6 separate regions of the Homo sapiens genome follow, and all the other regions are linked to region 1. Evidence: promoter capture Hi-C in human tissues and cell types (Jung and others, 2019). All regions are on one chromosome and are shown on one strand. Each heading gives the region's core, a stretch centred on a gene start or on the middle of the fragment in contact. The rest is flanking DNA. Distances are from core to core; before and after follow the strand shown. Region 1 holds the start of NCAM2 (neural cell adhesion molecule 2). Region 2 has its middle 89 kb from the start of MIR6130. Region 3 has its middle 370 kb from the start of MIR6130. Region 4 has its middle 560 kb from the start of MIR548XHG. Region 5 has its middle 23 kb from the start of LINC00308. Region 6 overlaps LINC01687 (long intergenic non-protein coding RNA 1687).

The links. The method cuts DNA at HindIII sites, captures the fragments that hold promoters and counts their contacts. A contact is called where the count stands out against the background at its distance.
Region 2: a fragment that was not itself captured here is called in contact with the fragment with the promoter of NCAM2 in region 1 in 1 of the 25 tissues and cell types used here (dorsolateral prefrontal cortex).
Region 3: a fragment that was not itself captured here is called in contact with the fragment with the promoter of NCAM2 in region 1 in 1 of the 25 tissues and cell types used here (lymphoblastoid cells).
Region 4: a fragment that was not itself captured here is called in contact with the fragment with the promoter of NCAM2 in region 1 in 1 of the 25 tissues and cell types used here (dorsolateral prefrontal cortex).
Region 5: a contact is called between a fragment that was not itself captured here and the fragment with the promoter of NCAM2 in region 1, in 1 of the 25 tissues and cell types used here (lymphoblastoid cells).
Region 6: a fragment that was not itself captured here is called in contact with the fragment with the promoter of NCAM2 in region 1 in 1 of the 25 tissues and cell types used here (lymphoblastoid cells).

What each region holds. Positions count from the first base shown.
Region 1 is chr21:20,996,748-21,000,459 of GRCh38, forward strand. NCAM2 (neural cell adhesion molecule 2) reads left to right here and starts at 1,662. Exons shown (of 18, transcript NM_004540.5): 1 at 1,662-1,871. The coding sequence starts at 1,817. The HindIII fragment of the contact is 14,781 bases long and covers 1-3,712 here.
Region 2 is chr21:22,988,713-22,992,424 of GRCh38, forward strand. No RefSeq gene overlaps it. Among named protein-coding and RNA genes, the nearest start is that of MIR6130, 89 kb to the right of the region's middle. The HindIII fragment of the contact is 4,354 bases long and covers 1-3,712 here.
Region 3 is chr21:22,705,409-22,709,120 of GRCh38, forward strand. No RefSeq gene overlaps it. Among named protein-coding and RNA genes, the nearest start is that of MIR6130, 370 kb to the right of the region's middle. The HindIII fragment of the contact is 4,596 bases long and covers 1-3,712 here.
Region 4 is chr21:19,322,650-19,326,361 of GRCh38, forward strand. No RefSeq gene overlaps it. Among named protein-coding and RNA genes, the nearest start is that of MIR548XHG, 560 kb to the left of the region's middle. The HindIII fragment of the contact is 8,874 bases long and covers 1-3,712 here.
Region 5 is chr21:22,119,412-22,123,123 of GRCh38, forward strand. No RefSeq gene overlaps it. Among named protein-coding and RNA genes, the nearest start is that of LINC00308, 23 kb to the left of the region's middle. The HindIII fragment of the contact is 4,627 bases long and covers 1-3,712 here.
Region 6 is chr21:22,028,054-22,031,765 of GRCh38, forward strand. All of the region lies in intron 4 of LINC01687 (long intergenic non-protein coding RNA 1687), which reads right to left. Among named protein-coding and RNA genes, the nearest start is that of LINC01687, 69 kb to the right of the region's middle. The HindIII fragment of the contact is 8,159 bases long and covers 1-3,712 here.

The sequences.
Region 1 (3,712 bases), core at 412-2,911:
GCCTTTCCCCTCCTCTCTTCCTGATAACCCCATCCCAGGATGCCAAGTGGACGAATCATCTGTATAAAGCGCTCTGCCTGGGGAGGACAAATCGCAGACGGTATCTCCCCTATGCATGTTAGCCTGTGTCTACTCTTGCCCCCTGCCCTCCCTGAAGGCAATGCACTGCCCTTTTCAGCGTGAAATCCCCAGGCTGGGGCTGGATTCTGAGCTCTACATTTCTACCTCCCCCCTCTCCAACCCCCGCTATTTCTATGTCCTCACTGATAAGGAAGGAGCTAGGGTCCTTGTGGAGGCCGGGGCGAGGCAGTTGAGTTTTCTAAGGAGCCAGAGAGAAAGTGCAGATGAAAGGACCCATCGTCAGCGTTTGCAGGTCGCGGTAACCCCAGGCCAGATTGACATGGGCTCCGCACCCGGGCCGGTGATTCTGCCTCTTAACCGCTCTTGCAGGAGAGGTGACGTTAATCTCACAAACGTTTTCCTACCCTTCTAGGAGAAATAACGATAAGCCCCAATCTTAAGGAGCAGAGAGTTAGTTCCGGGCGTTTGCCACGGCTCCCTCACTTCAATTTACACTCGCACACGCGGGTACGTGGGTGTTCGGGGTAGGGCACTGATCTGGGGAAGGTCTCCCCCCCGCGACCCAACTCATCTTTGCACATTTGCAGTCCTCCCTCGGTGCACTCCTGGCGGGGATCTGGCCAGTGCAGCGCACTGGGACCGAGGGCAGAGCCCGCGGAGTGAGGCCAGGAGAGACTTCAGGCCTCTAAGGACACAGCTGAGGCTAAGGCTGAGTTGAACGCAGCCCCTCCCGCGGCTCGTCCCCTCTCCAGTGTCTCTCCCGTAAGGTGCCGCTCCCAACAGCAATGGGTCGAGATGTAGAGGAAACACTCTGTACGTTATTTTTCCGCCCACCCTTTAGCGCCTGAGGAGACAGACAGTGTAGACTTTAGGGTACAATTGCTTCCCCTCTGTCGCGGCGGGGTGGGGAGCGTGGGAAGGGGACAGCCGCGCAAGGGGCCAGCCTGCTCCAGGTTTGAGCGAGAGAGGGAGAAGGAGGTCCACGGAGAGACAAGAATCTCCCTCCTCCCACGCCCAAAAGGAATAAGCTGCGGGGCACACCGCCCGCCTCCAGATCCCCCATTCACGTTGAGCCGGGGCGCGCTCGGGGCGGTCGCCTGCAGTATCAGTATCAGCATCAGCATCAGCATCAGCATCTGCATGAGCATCAGCTCAGCTCAGCTCAGCTCAGCATCAGCTCAGCTGTCCTGAGGCAGCCGGCGGCTGTGAAGGAGCTCCAGGCTGCCCCCATCCCCACGCCCTTCTCGGCTCAGGGCGTGCATGAACCTGCGGATGGCCGGCGGGCGAGTGGCGCCTTCGCGATCGCGGCCGCCCCTCTAGGCGGAGGCACCGGGGACCGAACCCGTGACTTCGAGCTCCACTGCGGACGAATCCCGGGACCGCGCGCCTCGCGGAAGAGCGGCCGCCGTGCAGCGCGGAGGGATACGCCTCGGCCGCACCTCCCCTCGCCGCGCCCCCGCCCCCGCCGCCCTCCCCGCCCGGCTCTGCTGCCGCCGCGGCGGCCGCTGCTGCTGCTGCTTCTGCCGCCGCTGCCGCCGCCGCTGCCTGGATATAGTGCGGCAAGAGCGGAGCTTGCAGTCACTTTGCGAGGAGGAGCGCGCGGGCTGCGGGCGGCTGGGGCACCGCGGGAGCGGCGGCGGCGGCTCTAGCAGAGGCGGCCGGGGCAGCGAAAGGTTCTCTCTCCAGGGCTGGACTTAATAACTTTGAAACTGTCCACCGGTGTCACGTCCTGAACATGAGCCTCCTCCTCTCCTTCTACCTGCTGGGGTTGCTTGTCAGTAGCGGGCAAGGTAGGAGTGTGGCGCTTTATTGCATTTACTTTCCCTCCCCCTTCCACCCGGCCAAGAGAGGCAAAGAGGGAGGCGCAGGAAGAATGAAATGAAAGAACTAAAGTTACAGTTATTGCTGTTGTTGTTATTATTATTTTCGTTCTTTCTCCTAGCTGTCCCTAAAATTGTATCTGTTGTGTGGAGACCCTTAAATAAGAGAAGGGAAAATACAGAATTGGAGAGGGGAATCGGTGAGCAGGATATCCAGGGAAACCGCTTCTTCTTCTTCTTTTTTTTTCCTCTGGGATTATGGCTTTCTCTTATTTTTATTATCAGAAATTGGATGAGTGTGTTAACAGTGAAATATCTGAGGTTGCGGAAGGAAAGGGCACGATGGTGTTTTACAGAAGCAGCAAAAACTATCAGTGTTAAACTCATTTGCAAAATATCTGCTGTGTGCAAGACGTTCGATTCTTGGAGACTCTTTTTTTTTTCCACCCCTTTCCCAAAACCCTAATTCCTGACTATGAAGTGAATGATGATGGCTTATTTCTGTTGGAAACTAAGAGAGGGGCCGTGGATATTGTGTGTAAGAAAGCAAATGGATAAAACTAGGGATGTGTTGCAGTCATTCATTTTGACCCCAACCCCTTATTAATACAGAAAGGTGGAATCATTTTATAACATTACATTGTAATTACACCTGTAGAGGATTTTTGGGGTTGTGGGAGAACTGGTGGAAGCTTTTATCTCTTAAAAAAAAAAAATGAATAGCCTGGTAGAATAACCTGAGAGGGAATTTGTGGAAGCTATCACTGTTTGTCTCTAGAGAGATAGATATGAATTTATCTGGCTGTTTAGATAGTAAACACTCACATGAAATATATTTACAATAAATGGAAGCATTTTCAACTGTCCAGACAAGTTTGGACGTTTAATTAGGGACACAAAATGCTAAAACATGCATTGGTGAAAGTCTTTAAAGGAAAAATAAAATAGCACTAATTTTGAGATATGTAATGATTGCAAAGAATGTTATGTTGTTAGTGTAGTGTGAAATTGGTTTTTTAAAATAATATAATAAATTACAAGACAAGTTAAAATATCCCCAAGATATTCAGTTCTAAGCATTTTTAGCCTCTTCTGTATTGCTCGTTTGGTCCAGCAGGGGGTGGTAGAACTCCATTTTAAGCCCAGAAGTTGGTTTCTGCTCTTCCACAGAGTCCTTCTATCATTCTTCAGCAGGGCTTGACATTTTGGATGTGAAGCCTTCCTTTTTCTGCCCTTCTCCTCCCCACAGCTATAGTGTTAGTGGCGGATGAAACACGATTGGATGCAGATTTAATGTTCAGAAATCAGTATGCAAATGTTGGATATTCCTATAGTTTGTAAAGTGTCTTGATAAGATTCTGCTCATTTTCCCTTCCTAACATAGAGTATGAAATATTTCAGTCTTAGCAAAATTGCAGATATGTCCATCTGAAGCTAATACTAGCCCAATTCGTTAATTCAGTGGTTCTTAAGCAAAGATCAGCATGCACATATGTCCTACAGATATGCTTCTTTAATTTTCAGATAGCTGCTGATTGTGTTTAACTGTTCATTTATAGCATAGACAGGTATTTTTGAGCACCAAGAAACAATCCCTGAAAATTGCAGTTAAAATACAACTGCAATTAAATAAGTGTAGGTAGTGTGGGGCAGAATGGGAGCATAATAGGAAACAAGTTTATGCAGACTTAGGATTACATTGTGAGTGGTTTGGAGAAGAAAAATGTCTCAGTTGTGGAATCTGAATTTATCATTGTAGAGGCTAAGTGTGTTGGAATTTGGAGACATAGGAAATTAGAAATGTTTAGATA
Region 2 (3,712 bases), core at 345-2,844, 2.0 Mb after region 1:
GAACCCCTGTACACTATTGATGGGAATATAAATTAGTATGACCACTATGGAAAACAGTTTGGAGGTTCTTCAAAAAACTAAAAATAGAACTACCATATAATCTAGCACCCCCAAACTGCTGGGTATATACCCAAGAGAAAGGAAATCAGTATATCAAAGAGATGTCTGCACTCCCATGTTTGTTGCAGCACTATTTATAATAATAACTAAGATTTTAAATCAACCTATGTGTCTGATATGGTTTGGCTGTGTCCCCTCCCGAATCTCATATTGAACTGTAACTCTCATAATTCCCACCTGTTGTGGGAGAGACCTGGTGGGAGATAATTGAATCATGGGGGCGCTTTCCCCCGTATACTGTTCTTATGGTAGTGAATAAGTCTCATGAGATCTGATGATTTTATAATAGGTTTCTCCTTTTGCTTGGCTCTCATTTCTCTCATGTCTGCTGCCATGTAAGACATGCCTTTCATCTTCCACCATAATTGTGAGGCCTCCCCAGCTACATGGCACTGTGGGTCCACTAAACCTCTTTTTCTTTATAAATTACCCAGTCTCTGGTATGTCTTTATCAGCAGCATGAAAAGAGTGTCTATCAACAGATACATGGATATGGAAAATGTGGTACATATACACAATGGAGTACTACTCAGTCATAAAAAAGAATGTGATCCATTCATTTGCAACAACATGAATAGAACTGGAGATCACCATGTCAAGTGAAATAAACCAGGCACAGAAAGAAAAACATCATGTGTTATCACTTATTTGTGGGATCTAAAAATCCAAACAATTGAACTCATGGACATAGAGAGTAGAAAGATGATTACCAGAGGCTCAAAATGGAAGGAGGGGCAGGGAGGCAGTGGGGATGGTTAATGAGTACACAAATTAGTTAGAGAGAATGAATAAGACCTACTATTTGATAGCACAACAGGGTGACTATATTCAATAATAACAATTGTACATATTAAGATAACAAAGAGTGCAATTGGATTGTTTATAACTAAAAGTATAAATGCTTAAAGGGATAGATACCCCATTCTTCATTATGTGCTTATTTCATGTTCTGTTATCAGAATATCTCATGTACTCCATAATTATATACACCTACTATGTATGCACAAAAATTAAGAATAAAAAATAAAATAAAATATTTTATTAACATCTCATTATAAAATAATTTGAATGTTATTTATAAAAAGATAATGAGATATATTATAAAAACAATTCTTAAATGAAAAAACATTATTATATAACAGTATCAAAAAGCATTATTACAACAAAGGCATTATTACAATAACAATAAAATTGTCTAATATTAAACCAGAAGTGAACAAGTGGTTTAAGTATTCTGCATTCATTGGTAATCAACAGACACCTCATGTGATGCTCATTATTAGAGGACTGACTTCTTATATGCCTCCAATATTCATAGGTACCAAACCTACAATAATCATATAGAAGAGATATACTTGGAAAGTTATGTTATAAGGTAGAAAAATATCGAAAAGGAAAGTTTTGCCTCTTAATATTTTGCTGGTTAGAAAAACAAGAATCTCAGATGCAAGACTTCTTTAATGAAGCTAATACATCTTTGCTGTGTATGGTATTATACAGAATGACAATAAAGTAAAATCTTCATTAGAAGATTATATGTATTTCTGTTTTGATTAAATCAATAATCCTTTAAAATATTTAAAATTACTTTCACTCAGTGTTATTATTTCCTATAGAATGTAATGAAAGCAATATTTTGTAAACTGTACTCATTAAAATCCTGTCTCTAATGTTCATTGCATGAACTCACCATGTAGGTAAAGATAAACTCTAATGAGGTCCTTTGATGATTTCTGTAGCAAATCCCCTCTGGTACCACAGGATAAATTGGCCTTATGCAGAAATATTCTCTATATTATACTGTGGGTTTCACCACACACAGAAATCACATCAAATCAGAATAAAACATAAATGATTTACACCTCTAATAGTCTTTTACCTAATACAGGTCAACCTACATAGTTTTTTTTCAGATGTATCCTGAAACATGAATAAAAACTCATAGTGAATTAACACAGTCAAGTATGTACGTATTTCCCTAGTTTATTAAACACATTTTGAGGTCCTATTATGAACTATGCAATAGTTGGGGTGCTGTGAACACACCAAAAACCAAAACAAAAACGTACGTCCCCTTTCTCATAACGTTTGTAGGTTTGAGAGGGAAGCAGACAATTAAAAGACATTAACAATAAATATGCAATTATGAGATGTGCAAATACTAAAAGGAAAAATCCAGATGGTTAAAATGTGGGAGGGGTAGAGGTAACATTTGTGAAAATATTTCTGATTAAAACAAGGAAGCAGGCATACAGATATCTGGTTTACCAGAAAAAAAAAAATGTGTTTTCCACACTCAAGTGTCTACAGGTCTCCTGGAGTTCAGCTGATCTAGTGTGAACTTGACTGGGCTCTTCTACTTCTGGATGAGGGCCAGATGCATTTGTTATTTGTCTATAAAACGAGTCAAGAGCTGCTCCATTTGTCCCTCTTTAGATCTGCAGCTGAGGTGTGTTCTTTTTAGGGATAATAGTAGATGGAAAACCAGACCAAAAAAAAGCATATTTTGTGTCTCTATTTATGCCAAAAAGACTCATATTTCATTGCCAAAGCAAATTACGTAGCCAAGTCTAATATTAATATGGGAGACAAGTATTTTTAATCTACAATGGCAGAGCACACAGAGCTATGTTGCAAAGAGTATGGGCTTACTGTCCAAACAGAAAGAAATATTAGAATCAGCCATTCAGTATCCTGGTACAGAAGGTGGCTGGTCTTCTGTTCAGAGTAAAGACTATTTTTTTTTTGAGTGAGATGTGAAGCTATTGCAGAATTTTGGGCAAAGAGGGACATCATTTGATTTGAATGTTGAAAAAAATTACTTCAGTCTTTTTTTGCAAATATATTGTCATGCAGTAGGTGAAAAACTGGGATGCTTATATTAACCCAAGTGATAAGCAGACATATATAGGACCAGGGAAGTAATAATACATATGCTTAAAGGTGAACTGAAAATGTATTTCTCTACTCTACTACATAGTCATCATACTATGGCGGCATAGACTTATGTAACCACGATAGACGTTCCCAGTTTAAAATGAGAAAATCAGGAGGCACACCACAGTCATTGGTCAATAGTTATTTGAAAATTCATCGGGTTATTTATTAGATTAAGACTCAGTTATTCTCTGGGGCTTTTGAATCTGCCTACTAGATTTCTTGTTTCACCATCTAAATCATCCTTTTCTTTTCATCGGGGGTAGTATATATATATTTCTCTGAGAAGATTTTTAGCCTTCTTTGTTTTGCTTGTAGAAGGTTGAAGGACAAAAATCTTTCTTTTTAACTATCCTTTTAAGTATAAGTTTATGAACTCCGTTAAACAAAACTTTTAAAGCTTTGGAATATGTGTCAATTTATAAATTATTCCATAGACAAGAGTCACACCCACAATCTCATCAAGATAATCTCACATCTATTTGGTCTCCCTATGGTACTGCTGTAGGGCAGTCCTTAAGATTCTTAGAAAACCATTTGTTTAATAGAGAAGACCTTTGAGGAATAACCTCATGCTCTCTGGAAGAATTTTTGTCTGTCTGAAAGGTTACATAAGACCTCATCTTAGATCTTTTCTAAGGTCTTGACATAAGAT
Region 3 (3,712 bases), core at 660-3,159, 1.7 Mb after region 1:
ATAAATTATATTCCTATAATTTATAGGAATACTTATGGGAATATAATTTATTCCTATAAATAAATACAATAATTATTTATAGATTATTATAAATAAATTATATTTTATGTAATTTATTAAAATTATAGAAATGTCCTATAAATAAATACAATAACATAGATTCCTATAAATAAATTATATTATATATAATTTATTAAATTCATAAGAATTTCCTATAAATAAATACAATAATTATTGTATTGTATTAGATTGGAACTAATACAATATTACCATAATCTGTTTAAGATTCCTATAAATAAATAGTATGTGACTGATAAGTGATATTAACTCGTTATCATATGCAACCCATAAATGTACGGATGTCTAATTAACATATTTACAGTCATAATCTTCTCTGTATTAGATAAAAATTAAAAAATCTAATTTTTGATTGTCAAGGTAACAACCAGAAAAGTAACAGAAATAATGCATAAATACATTGCCAATAACATATTCTTTGTATTTTACTTTGTATTTGTGCTTACATGAAAATTAAAATAAACATGTTATATTAATAGTTATAAATTACATTTTTGTTGTAACTGAAGTATTGATTTCTTTTATCTCTTAAAATTAAAAAAAAAGACAGTTTAATGCCTCCATACATGTCTTTCATTCACAGATATTGGTATAACTTCTCAAAAATGTAAACATGCAGACAGAGGAGAGGAAACTGTAAAACATACTCATCACAAGTAATCACTACTCATTATCTAAGCATTTTCTTTTTCTCAGAAATATCTTTAATCCAGCTTTATAAAAATGACATTGATTATATTATAAAATGATATTGATAGTGATTTTATTTGTTAAACTCTAATAGCTAAAATAGAGTTTAAAAATTGTAAAAATCAGTACTAAGCAAATTGTTTAATTAAGGTAATTTGTTCTGAAAATACATTCTTTGTGATGATTATTTTTCTAATTATTGCCTAGATCTATGTTGTTTAATAGAACCTTTTTTTTACTATATAAATACAAATTTATACTTAGAATAGCTAAATAGTAAGAACTCTAAAGTCATGGCCTTCAAATATACTTAATACATTTTGCCATGCATATTAAAAATACTAAAACATACTGTAAAATATTTTGTATTTTATTTTAGTGGATAGTTATATAACCCAAAAGGAATAAGGTAAGCTATAATGGATTTGTCTGTAAGTGCTGGAAGGATTTTTATCTGAAGCTGCTGGTATTATAAGAAAAGAACTTTTATGTGTGTTATCTCATGAAGTTTATATAAAAGAATAAAACATAGATTGAAGTAAATACCACTGTAAACAAAAGAGGATCCTTTCAACTTAGAATTCTTATCAAAATATATGAGTACACTAAGGAAACTAAAAAGTAAAAACTACATGTATTTATGAAGGTTCAAGTTCTTTAAATTTTGAATTTTTGAATGGTATACTATAGATACAAACCAAAGAACAAAAACTAAAATTACCATTTGAACCATCAATTTCATTTCTGCGTATATATCCGAAGGAAAAGAAATTTAAAAATTAATTAGAAATTAATTAGAAAAAATTAATCTACCAAAGGAAAACAAAACAAAACAAAACAAAACACTTGCATTCATATGTTTACTTCAGCACTATTCACAATAGCAAAGACATGGAATCAACATAGGTATTCATCAACGGTTGATTGGATAAAGAAAATGTGGTACATACACACCATAGAATACTACACAGCCATAAAAAAGGACAAGATCATATTCTTTGCAGCAACATGGATCAACTTGAGGCTATTATCCTAAGTGAATTAACTCAGAAATAAAAAGTTAAAGACTTCATGTTCTCACTTAGATGTGGAAGCTAAGCATTGGGTAGACATGAACATAAGGATAGAAACAATGAACACTGGGGACTCCAAAAGGAGGGGGAGATGGCAGAGGGCAAGAGTTGAAAAACTACCTCTTGGGCACTATGTTCATCATTTAGGTGACAGGTTCAGTGGAAGCCCAAACCTCAGCTTCACACAACATATCCATGTAACAAACCTGCACAAGTACCCTCTGAAATCAATATTTTAAAAATCAACAATTTTTAAAAAGTAGATTCTTACATAAATGACATACAGAAAATACCTACTACAAGTATTGATTAATAAGTGATTAAAATGGTCTAATGGTAAGTGTGAAATTGTGGATGGGATTAGATAGGCATAGCAGAGGAAAGTAAGAAAAGAAGAGAAGCTATAATAAAGCTTAAAATAATTAATTAGTTATTGGTTAATTAGATACAGTGGATAAAGAGGAAGAATAAGTCAAAATATAACTATGTATTTTATAGGGGAGGCAATTTTGAGAAGCATATTGTCATGCTTTAGTTTAAGGAGATTATGAAGAGGCTCTAGATTAAAGCATAAGGTGATCAGGTCATTTGCATCCATATTAAACTCCGGTTAATAACAGAAAGTGAGCATAAAAACAATCAGTGGGAAAATGAAAAAATGAAGAAAAAGCCTACTTGTTGTGGGGGCAATGGGACCATTAATAAAAATATCAAGATAAATGCCAATAAAATGAGAAATACTCATGTGAGAGCAAGACTTGAAGAACGCAGAAACAGAAGGATCATGTTTTATTGCTCCCAATGCTTCTGACATGAATGAAAGGAAATCAAAACACAAAGATCCAACACATTAAGTAACACATTATAAGCTAGAAATAGAATAAGGGAAAGTTATATACTTACTGTTAGACTAAAAATGTTCATTTTGAAATTAGCACTAATTGCTTGTTAAAAATGCCAACTCATAAAATGTGACATAATGTAAAATATCAGTTTCTTAAAAAATCTGAGAAATAACTATGCATTATATTTGCATTGCATGTTGGGAAAACCTGCTCATTCTATTCTGATTTTCAATTTTCTTTGATTTTTATTATTTTTTAAAGAGACACACAAAATTAGATTGTGAATAGACTCCTATATACATGCTAGAACTTGGTAACTACCAACATTTTGCAGAACATGTTTCATCTTAGCCTCAGTCCTCTTTTATTTTTCTGAATATTTTAATGATACTACATTATTTCATGTCTACATATTTTGTAATGGATTTTAAAAATACAATTTCTTGGTGGGGCGCGGTGGCTCACATCTGTAATCCCAGCACTTTGGGAGAACGAAGTGGGCAAATCATGAGATCAGGAGTTCAAGACCAGCCTGACCAATATGGTGAAACCCCGTTTCTACTAAAAATACAAAAATTAGCCTGGTGTGGTGGTGTGCACCTGTAATCCCAGCTACTTGGGAATCTGAGGCAGGAGAATCACTTGAACCTGGGAGGTGGAGGTTGCAGTGAGCTGAGATGGCACCACTGTACTCCAGCCTGGGCAACATAGTGAGTGAGACTCTGTCTTTAAAAAAAAAAAAAAAAAAAAAAAAAGAAAAAACAGTTTCTTATAAAACCTTAGTAACTCTATAGCATGTAACAAAATTAGCAATGATTTATCATCATACCTAGTACATATCCAAACTATTAAAATTATTTGTAATATTTTCTCTTGTTAATATTTAAATTTCTTTTCATATGCAAATTTCTAGACATGTTATTATGGCAGAGCATAATAAGCCATAGTGTGTCCCATAACTATAACAATTTCATGCCACAAATTATTTAATTTCTCCTCTCTCAGCCTCTTGAACTTCAAATTATT
Region 4 (3,712 bases), core at 429-2,928, 1.7 Mb before region 1:
TCTGCTACCATTTCTTTCTTTGAGTATATCAAAGATGGAGGGCTGTTGCTGGAAAAACATGCTGAAAATTATTTGAAATTTCAAATGTAAAGAAAATCCTACTTATTTTTTACATTTGCAAAAGTCAAGGACTTACAAATGGTTGTGGTAATATTCAGAAAGTGAACATAAAGATGAATATTACATACTTATGATTTCTATATTTAATTGGTGAAATCATTTCAAATGGGATTTATGTATTAAAAATCAGACAAAAGTATGCCTCACTTTCTTTGGTGATCATCTTTGTGATTTGATTTCAGATAGCATAGCAAGAATATCAGTACTCTCTGAAGTAGAGATACCTGCATCTCAAATATAATCTTACATAAAATTCATTTATCTATAAAATTCTCTTACAGATTCATTTATAATCTGGTTGTATGCCTGCCAGAAATTTAAAGGATTGTGATGAACTACAATAGACCTTAATATTTTTGATCCATAAATTATGGAAACTTTAAAACTAATAAATTATGTGCAGGATGTATTTAAAAATATCAGAAGATTTTTAAGTAAAATATTCTTTGTGAAAGCAGAAAGGAACAGGATATCAGTTTACTGAGACAGCTTGGAACTCATTTGAGAGATAAAAAGGAAAAATTACCATAAGGCACTAGGAAAAAAAAAATTATAAACATTATTTGAAAGTAACCAAGTTCTGAATGAGAGAAAATATATGATTGTCTCACATTAATAAAAACTAAAATATATTGGTCATTTTAGGTTATTACATATCAATAATTTTCTAATTTCAGAACTAAAATTCTAAGTTTTAATGATTTGTACACAGTTGATTTGATTCAAATAGTCCCTTATATTTCGTTTTTGGAAGGATTTAGTTCATTTATATGTTAAGGTATATAAATTTCCTTCTTGAAAGGATTCAGTTTACTTATATGTTAAGGTATGTAAATAGGTTTTTATAACTAGTAATTATTTTGAGTCATACATTTTTAGTAATGTGAAAGAAAAAATCTTTTCTGAGATGTTATGTGATTGAAATGATTTCAAATAATTCTGTGAAGAATTATAGCAAGTAAAAATAAATGACTTCACCAACTAAAAACCATGAAATATTTTCATATGTGCTCATGTCGTGCTGCCGTAGACAGCTAAAGTCAGAATGATATATTTAGTTACATTAGTCTGGGCATTGTGTTCTAAAGAAATTCTAAAGACAGAAAAGGAAGAAAGGCTCATATTATGAACATTTATTATGTGTAAACTATTGTTATAGATTAAAGTAGTCTGAATAAATCTAAGAAAAACTGAAGTCCTGGTTAAATTTCTAAACCTACCTACACACATACACATTCACACACTCCACTACAGTCAGAAGTAGAAACATGTATGATGATTTGAACACATTTCTCTTTCTTCTTTTGGTCTATAAAGACATATATGTAAATTTTGACTTTAAGATAAGTTTACTATTGTAGGTTTACTTTACACTTTTGTCTGTAAGGTTATACACGGAGCCCCCAAATTTTAGATCTTTGTTCTACTGTGACAATCACTGTATAATTATTCTTGTCTTTACTGGCAGGAAAAGATAACCGAACTGTGGTTTGTAGAGTTCAATTACAGACACAGACATTATCAAAACCGAAGAGTAAAACTAAGAATAATTCTTACATGATTTACTAAGTCCTCTGCCATTCCTATTTTCAGACACATGGATTGGACTACGTATTTGCTAAGATAAACAAATTACTCCTAATCATAACTAGATTGATTACATTGATATACCTCATACTCAATGCAAAAAAAAAATGCAGAAATCAAAACTTGGCAGACAAGTTATTCCATTATTAAAGTATTTTGAAAAGTTCTGGATATAGTAAATTCACAGTTATTCTTTGAGATTATATTAGCCAGTCCTGAGATAAACAAAATCAGCAGGACTTATGTGTACAAATATGTATTTATACACAAACACACACACACACATACACACACACACACACACACACACATTTGGAGAGACAGAGAGAGAATGAGGAATTGGGTCATGTGATTAAGGAGCTAAGTTCTATGAACTTCCATCTGTTAAGCTGAAGGCTCAGGAAAGTTGGTCATGTAGTTTAAAGGCCTGAGAGTCAGAGGGTCATTGGTGTATATTCTAGTCCAAAGTGAAGGCATGAGAACCTGGGTCTTCAAGGACAGGAGAAGATCAGTATCGAGTTCAACCAGTCCAGCAGAAAAAAACTTCAAACTCCCTTCACCTTTTTGCTCTGTTCAGGCCCCCAGTGTATAGTATGATGCCCAGCCACCCTGAGGAGGGCCATCTGCACTCAGTTGGCCAATTCACATGTTAATCTCTTCTGAAAACACCCTAAAACACACCTAGAAATAATGTTGAACCAAGTATCTTGGCATTCAGTGGCCTGGTCAAGTTGACACCTAAAATTAACCATCACAGTCACTCTTTTCTGTGAAGGACAGAGCTACATTCTCAAGTTGAAACTCAAAAACAGACAATACATGCATATGTTCTCCATAATATCCTCTTACGCCTTTAAATGTTATGGCCATGCACTGGCTACACTATGAATACTATGTAATATTGCACGAGATACAAAAAGTTCAGTTAGAAAATATAAGAAAAAATTTGACTTAACTAGAATTCTTAACTAGAATTTACTTAACTTTACTTAACTAGAATTCTTTCTTCCCCAGTGATTTGTTACTAATGAGATTAATGTTTTGTAAAAATTAATAGTGGTAACTGCTTGTTCAAAAATTTTATAACCTATAGATTATAATTTATTGAATATAATTTATAATGTATAGGTTCATTTAAATGACTACAATAGACACTTGTAATTGTTCCTGCTTCTTGCCTTTCCATACCCCAGATTAATAGGAAAGAAACACAGTCAGCCATGACTGCCTCCTACTCCTTAAAATTCAATAGACTTCTGAATTAACCACAATCCTCTCGGTCTACTACCTTAGTATTTATGCTATCTGCTTCATATATAATTCTTCCTGCAGTTACCCTTCACATGGATAACTGCATGCAATTTTAACTAGTACTTTTTCCGTGCACTTAACCTTATTTTTCAACCTCCAAGTTTTTCTCTTTCAATTGGTCCATGCTGGAAGGCCCTATTTTTCTTTTCTGTCTATTGAAACCAATGATTGTAGGAGACAATAGCTGGTTTTGAGTCTTATGCAATTTTGGAAAGAAATGCTTTTGACTAGATCTGATGATAATATAATGCTGGTAATGCATAAAATACCTCTGCCAACTTTCTTTTTACAAAGAAGTCTAAGTTTCCTAAGCTATCTACTATTCAAATTTTCTTTACAAATTTTACAAAAGTAAGCATCAAAGAAATGTATTATTACTAAGGAAAAAAAAACTCAAGCCACAAAAGCATTATACATCGAGTGCTCCACTCACATTTCACAACTACTTTGTTCCCTATGCAGCAAACTTTCCCAGTATACTTTTATCATATTATGATTCTTAAAATTTAATTTTTTTACTACATCAAAGTATATGTAACATTGTTTTTCAGTAACCTTGTAATAAACTATCAGTAAATATGTACTGAAAAAGCGTGAATAAATTCCAAATTTATGTATAGTTGACCCTCTCTGCAGTTCTTGCTTTCATTTATTTAATTAACAAACATTTCATGCATACGGTGTCCCAGGCACT
Region 5 (3,712 bases), core at 709-3,208, 1.1 Mb after region 1:
AATGAAGAAGACTGTTTTTCCACTTAAGCTTTCTACTTGTATCTACTTTTTTCATTTTATATTATTTGATCATAAAATTATTTAATAACCCTCAATAGCCTTCAAGGGAAAGTGGAAACTTCTAAATTAGTGCTTATGGTGAATAGTGATGTGACATTTCCCCAATTCTAGTTTAAATTCTACTATTCACTCTCTTTCTTTGGAATAAGTGTACCACTTACTCCAAATAAATCAATCAAGTTATGCTTACTTGAATGTAAATGGTCATTTACATTTACCCGTAGCTTAACTTCTATCATAAGTAGCTACTCAGGACATGCCTGGCATATAAAATGTACCAAATTAAAATCAGTTTTTGGGGTGCCGTGGCCCATGCCTGAAATCCTAGCATTTTGGAAGGCCAAGGCAGGAGAATCACTTGAGCCCAGGGGTTAGAGACCAGCCTGGGCAACATAATGAGATCTCACCTCTATGAAAAAATTTCCAAAAACTTCACCTGGTGTGCTGATGAACTTCCATAGTCCCAGCTACTGAAGAGGCTGAGGTAGGAGAATTGCTTGAGGCGTGGAGGTCCAGGCTGCAGTGAGGTGTGATCACGCCACCGCACTTAAGCCTGGGTGACATAGTGAGACTTTGTCTCAAAAAATAAAATAGTTTTTGATTCAAGACACTTTTAAATCATTTTGGAAGATGCATAGATATATGTATTATAATTATACATATATAGAAAGAGATTGATACACCTACAGAGATATGCAGATTAAATAATGTTAATGTATTATTTCCCTATTGCTTTTCTGTTGTCTGTAACAAATTACTGTGAGAGCCGTGGTTTTTCTCCCGCCCCTCGTGACCAGTGAACATGGCTTTTGCATGCAGTGAACATGACCAGGTTCCCAAGCTGGGAGGGGACAGGGCATGAATTTGTCAAGTTCCCTGAGTGCCTGTGGATGTGGGGGTGGAAACAGAACCATGTTGTTCTGATTTGCACCTTTGATGGCTGAGCCAAATGCTCATTCTATTTAGTATTACAGCCGTAATCTGTAGCAAAACGCTTAGCATTATAAAGGAAAGATCAGAACCATTTCAAACCATGAGAGAAGACAAGACACCAAAGGAAGTCTGGGGTTCTTGACCAATGGAGCTCACCCTTGGGGCCTTCCAGCAAAAGATGCCTTCAGTTGCCCCGGGGCTTTACTCCCGACCCATGTGGTAGTTAGACCTCCCCGAAAGGAAACAGAGCATGAAAGAGAGAGGTGGCAGGGTCTTGGAAAAGAGACAGATCCGACAGTTTTCCATTTCAACTCACCCTTCTGATGAATATCCCAGATGGAGCCCCCAGATGAAATGGCCACGGCAACGGCCACGACGGGCGGGGGAAAAACCACAGCTGCCACTGGGAGCCTGCACGGTTGGCTGGCTGGCGCTTGCTGCCCGGTGTGCCAGTGGAACTCTACTCTGGCCAAGGAATTCAGCTCTGTCTGAACAGAGGGGAAGCATACAATGATTAAGGAGACACATTTGCGCTGAGCAAGGGGTTCTTCCCCCAGGACCTTCCCCTTTTGTTCCTTAAACTGTTTTCTCTTGTTTTCCTTTTCCAAGAGGTTTTCTTCCCCAGCACGCTGCTTCTGTTAGGGAAGTTAATGGAGAAGCGACCCCTACTGGCTGATAACTGCAAATTTAGCGGGGCTCATTTGAGATAGTTGATTCATGCAGCCACTTGAAATACTTTTGAGTCCCAAACTTGATTACAAGCTTCAGGCTGAGGCCCTAGAAAGGAAAACCAGATCTGAGGGATCCAAAGCCAGGCAATAGGCACAATGTAAATGGACAGGACCAATTCCTGCTGACCAAAGCCCCCACCCCACGGAAACAGGCCATGCTCTGTGGCGTAAATGAGACCTAGGAAACTCAAAGGTTGTCAACAGCAGGGAAAGATGGAGGCGAAGGTAAGGTCAGAAAATTCCTGTTCTCTACGCTTTCCCTGTTTTATGGGTGCATGCTGCATTGGCACCCATGAGCAGTACCTGCCAAGGTCACCTGGACACAGGGATAAAAAGATGGAAGAGAAAGGGAGGGCACTTGTTTTCTCTCTCCACACCCCGAGGTTCGCTGAAAGAAGGAAGGGAAGTGAGGGACGGCTCTATAGCCTATCTTTCGGAATGAGTAACCAGCTCTCTTCACCACCCCCAGCTTGTACTCTTCTGGAATGTATTCTAAACCATTGGAACTGCTTTGACCCTCAGAATCTGGAGGAAAAAAAATGTCTCATAGTCCTCTGTACAAAGATTTGGCCAAATTATGATTTATAGCAAGGACTGGCTTGGCCTCAGGAAGGAACCATTTATTTCAATACCATCCTGCAATTGGACCTTTTCTGTAAACATGAGGACTAGTGGTCTGAGGACCCATATGTGCAGGCTTTCTATATCTTGCAGGGCAATCCTGATCTTTGCCAACAGTGTAGGATTGATCCAGCCCTCCTGTTTGCCACTTCGGGAGAGGCTACCAGGGGCAATCTCAAGCAACTAAAGAAAGAAACCCCAGAGGTTCCCCCAGAAGAGGAGCCAGCTCCCTCCAACCCTGCTCCTTCAGGTCCTCCCCAACTTCCCTATCCAGCTTCAGCCTCTCACATTTCCCCTCCAAGAAATTCTCACCCTAGACAAGCCCCAGTCTTACTCTTGCCTCTGCAACAAGTGCCTGGTGAATTTGGCCCCAGTAAGGTCCAGACCCCTTCTCTTTATAGGACTTAAAGCAAATTAAGGGGGCTATTGACAAGTTTGTAGAGGACCCTCACAGATATATAGAGGCTTTCCAGAATTTCACCCAAAGATCTGAACTCTCCTGGAGAGATATTATGTTACTTGTGAATCAGACTCTGATGCATACTGAGAAGCAAGCCACTTTGCAAGTGACAGGGAGATTTGGGGAGGAGCTTTGTATAACATATAGCATCAGGGAAGACGGTGAACATTATCTAACTGGTAGAGAAGCAGTACCAGTGAATGACCCTGGATGGGATCCCAATGATGAGATGAGAGACTGGAATAGGAGACACTTCTAGGTATGCATAATCGGGGTCTTAAGACCAGGATCAAGCCTCCCAATTATGCTAAATTGTCCATGATCGATCAGGGATTTGATGAAAATCCCACTGCCTTCTTGGAATGGCTAAGAGAAGGCTTGGTAATGCACACCTCTCTGTCTCCTGATTCCATCGAGGGACAACTAATCTTAAAGAATAAGTTTATTATTCAGGCAGCCCCTGATATCAGGAGGAAGTTGAGGGAACAGGCCCTGGGACCAGATAGTACTTTAGAGAACCTTCTGAAAGTGGTCACCTCGGTCTTTTATAGTAGGTCACTGGAATGGATTCTTGAATTTATTATACCCAAGTAAAGGCCTGGGAAATGGATGGAGCCACTTCTGTCAACCCAGAAGAGTACCCAAAGTACCAACGTGAAGAGATCAGGGACCTCGAGCTAAAAATCACAAAAGATAAGTGTTAATAATTAACCTTCCATGGACATCCTCTATATAGTCTTGGCTATGCTTGCTGTTCTTACCTTTGTTCTGTTCTGTATCACGGGGCACGACAGTGTTTTCAGAATAATTAATATATTTCACTTCTTATTTCTGTAATTGTTGGCACTAAATTCTTTCCTTGTCCAAGACGCATGTTTAACCTATGCATACGTAACTTTATAAAAAT
Region 6 (3,712 bases), core at 554-3,053, 1.0 Mb after region 1:
ATTATTTGAATAGATTTGCAATAATTGATATATAGGTGAGCTCACAGCTCCTCAACTTGACTGACATATTTGAGCATGTTGTTTCAAAACACCTAATGAAATTATTTTTTTTTTTGGTAGTGGATATAAGCTTTTTAAAACTTCTTTTTCTTGACAGTTGTGTAAATCTTTTAGATAAGATTTTCAAATACCAAGAGATCACTCAAACTTCAGAGGTAACAATTAAAGAAGCCTATTAAAACTAGCCTCTATAAACATGTTAAAGGCATTAAGTTCCAATCTATGTCTTCGTAGGACACAAAATAGACAAAGAAAAGTGACTATGATGTAGCCTTTGATCTGAATGTTTGTAACCCCCCCACAAACATCCCCCTGCAAAGTTCATATGTTGAAATCCAAGTCCCTGAATAATGGTGTTTGAAGGTGGGGCCTTTGGGAGGTAGTTAGGCCACAAGGGTGAAGCCTTCATGAATGGGATTAGTGCCTTAATAAGAAGCCATAGAGCTAGCTCTAGCTCTTTCTGCAAGTGAAGATGCAATGAAAACTAGTAGTCAGCTGGGCACGTTGGCTCATGCCTGTAATCTCAGCACTTTGGGAGGCTGAGGTGGGCGGATCACCTGAGGTCAGGAGTTCAAGACCAGCCTGACCAACATGAAGAAACCCCCCTCTCTACTAAAAATACAAAAAATTAGCCAGGCGCGGTGTCAGGCACCTGTAATCCCAGCTACTGGGGAGGCTGAGGTGGGAGAATCGTTTGAATCCAGGAGGCGGAGGTTGCAGTGAGCCGAGATCATGTCACTGCACTCCAGCCTGGGCGACAGAGCGAGACTTTATCTCAAATAATAATAATAATGATAATAATAATAATAATCAGCAAACTTGAAAAGGCTCCTCATAAAACCCGGTTAGGATGGTGCTCATCTCCAATTTCCATCCTCCAAGACTATGAGAAATAAGTTTCCATTATTGATAAGCCACACAGTCTATAGTACATTTTTATCATTATGGCATTTTAACAAAATCACATATCTCACTTGCATTACTTTAAATATCTTCCTCAAATATTTAAGACAATTATGTGGCTAACTTTGCATTAGACTGGGTTGACAAATTGTTATTCTATTCATACACTATATAAACAATGTATAGCATTTCATCTTTATATAAAATTTCACCCAAATTCAAGCTTGTTTTATTTATTTCCTTATTTTTGGCTAATAGTTTCAGGCAAGGAAATATCATTGGTCAATATTGAACATCAGAAATGTTGAAGTGAGTAAATTTGAAAAATCATAGCTGAAAGCAATCTAGGGAATTAAACATGCTTTGGACAACACTATTTCTCCATTTTAATTGTCTGAACTTTTTGGATGAGTCTGCTATTGCCAAGCAATTCACATGTTCATGATATAACACGAATAATGTTAAATGGCTCACTGCACTCTCATTTAAATGCAGTAGGTTATTTTTCATGATTTTGTTTATTCCTTTATTATGAAGACTGGTAAAACAAAATAAAATTCCAATCATTATAGGGGTTTAAAATAAACCAAAGTTCATCATCATAAAATGATAGAATAAACATTTTATCACAAAACTTTCACTTAAGACATAAAATGTCTTCTAGGGTTTTTATGGTTTTAGGTCTTACGTTTAAATCTTTAATCCATCTTGAGTTAATTTTTGTATAAGGTATAAGGAAGGGGTCCAGTTTCAGTTCTCTGCATATGGCTAGCCAGTTTTCCCAACACCATTTATTAAATAGGAAATTTTTTCCCCATTGCTTGTTTTTGTCAAAGATCAGATGGTTGTAGATGTGTGGTGTTATTTCTGAGTCTTCTGTTCTGTTCCACATACGCATGGGCAATGACTTAATGACTAAAACACCAAAAGCAATTGCAACAAAAGCCAAAGTAGACAAATGGGATTTAATTAAACTAAAGAGCTTCTGCATGGCAAAAGAAACTATCGTCGGAGTCAACAGGCAACCTACAGAATGGGAGAAAATTTTGCAATCTCTCCATCTGACAAAGGGCTAATATCCAGAATCTACAAGGCACTTACACAAATTTACAAGAAAATAAAAAAAAAACATCAAAACTGGGCAAAGGATATAAACAGACACTTTCAAAAGAAGACATTTATGCGGCCAAAAAACATGAAAAAAAGGTCATCATCACTGGTTGTTAGAGAAATGCAAATCAAAACCACAATGAGATACCATCTCATGCCAGTTAGAATGGCGATCATTAAAAAGTCAGGAAAAAACAGTTACTGGAGAGGTTGTAGAGAAATAGGAAGGCTTTTACACTGTTGGTGGGCGTATAAATTAGTTCAACCATTGTGTAAGACAGTGTCGCGATTCCTCAAGGATCTGGAACTAGAAATACCATTTGATCAGCAATCCCATTACTGGGTATATGCACAAAGGATTATGACTCATTCTACTACAAAGACACATGCACATGTATGTTTATTGCAGCATTATTCACAATAGCGAGAACTTGGAACCAACACAAATGCCCATCAATTTTAGACTGGATTAAGAAAATGTGGCACACATACATCATGGAATACTATGCAGCCATAGGAAAGAATGAGTTCATGTCCTTTGGAGGGACATGGATGAAGCTGGAAACCATCGTTCTCGGCAGACTAACACAGGAACAGAAAACCAAACACCGCATGTTGTCACTCATAATTGCTCATAAGTGGGAGTTGAACACTGAGAACATAAGGGCACAGGGAAGGAGGGAACATCACACACCGGGGCCTGTTGGGGGTTAGGGCTCTAGGGGAGGGATTGCATTAGGAGAAATACCTAATGCAGATGACAGGTTGATGAGTGCAGAAAACTACCATGGCACATGTAAACCTATGTAACAAACCTGCACGTTCTGCACATGTATCCCAGAACTTAAAGTATAATTAAAAAAAAAAAAAAAGGTAATGATAATCTAATTCGTGGAATTTCTGAAAAATTGACTTCTAAACTGTAAGAATAATTTGGTTTACAGCATGTTCTACCAATATGGAAGTATTTACTGAAAATATTGAATGACATACATATTTGAAAATGATAGATCTTTCCATGTACCATAAAAATTGAGTCATTGTCAACTTAGTGTTTGCTTTTCCCAAGCAAATTAAACATTTATTGCTGGAAGAAATGAAAAACATGGCTCCACAACCCTTTCTGTGTCTCACATTGGATAGTCAGTATTTTTTGCACAGAAGGACAACCATCATAAGCAAATTAAGTGATTGCCTATGACATTTCTCCCAAATATTTACAGATAATTTTTAAATGTAATTTTTCAATAACGATAAAAGGTTAAAGTGAAGACATCATTCAAAGGTGGGCATGACAGTGTAGAAACCAATTAGGGAAGGGTAGGTATATGTAAAATAGGTGAAGGGTGGGGAAATCAGAGGAAAGCCCACTAAACAGGGAGACAAGTTGCCAAGCCAGTCTGAGGATTTAACTTGTAGCTTGACTTTCAGGCTTTAAATTGTCTTCGGCTTAGAGGTGACGTTTCACCAGGGACCCACCCCTATCTGCCTAGGCATTTGGTTGCCTCCTGCCCTCTCACATTGATGAAATGCATTACGAAAATATTAAAACTAACAATACCAAATGTATAACTAGCTATATTATAAAAAAGAAAATGTAATAATGAAAACTGTTAAGATCTAATCTTTCACATATTCG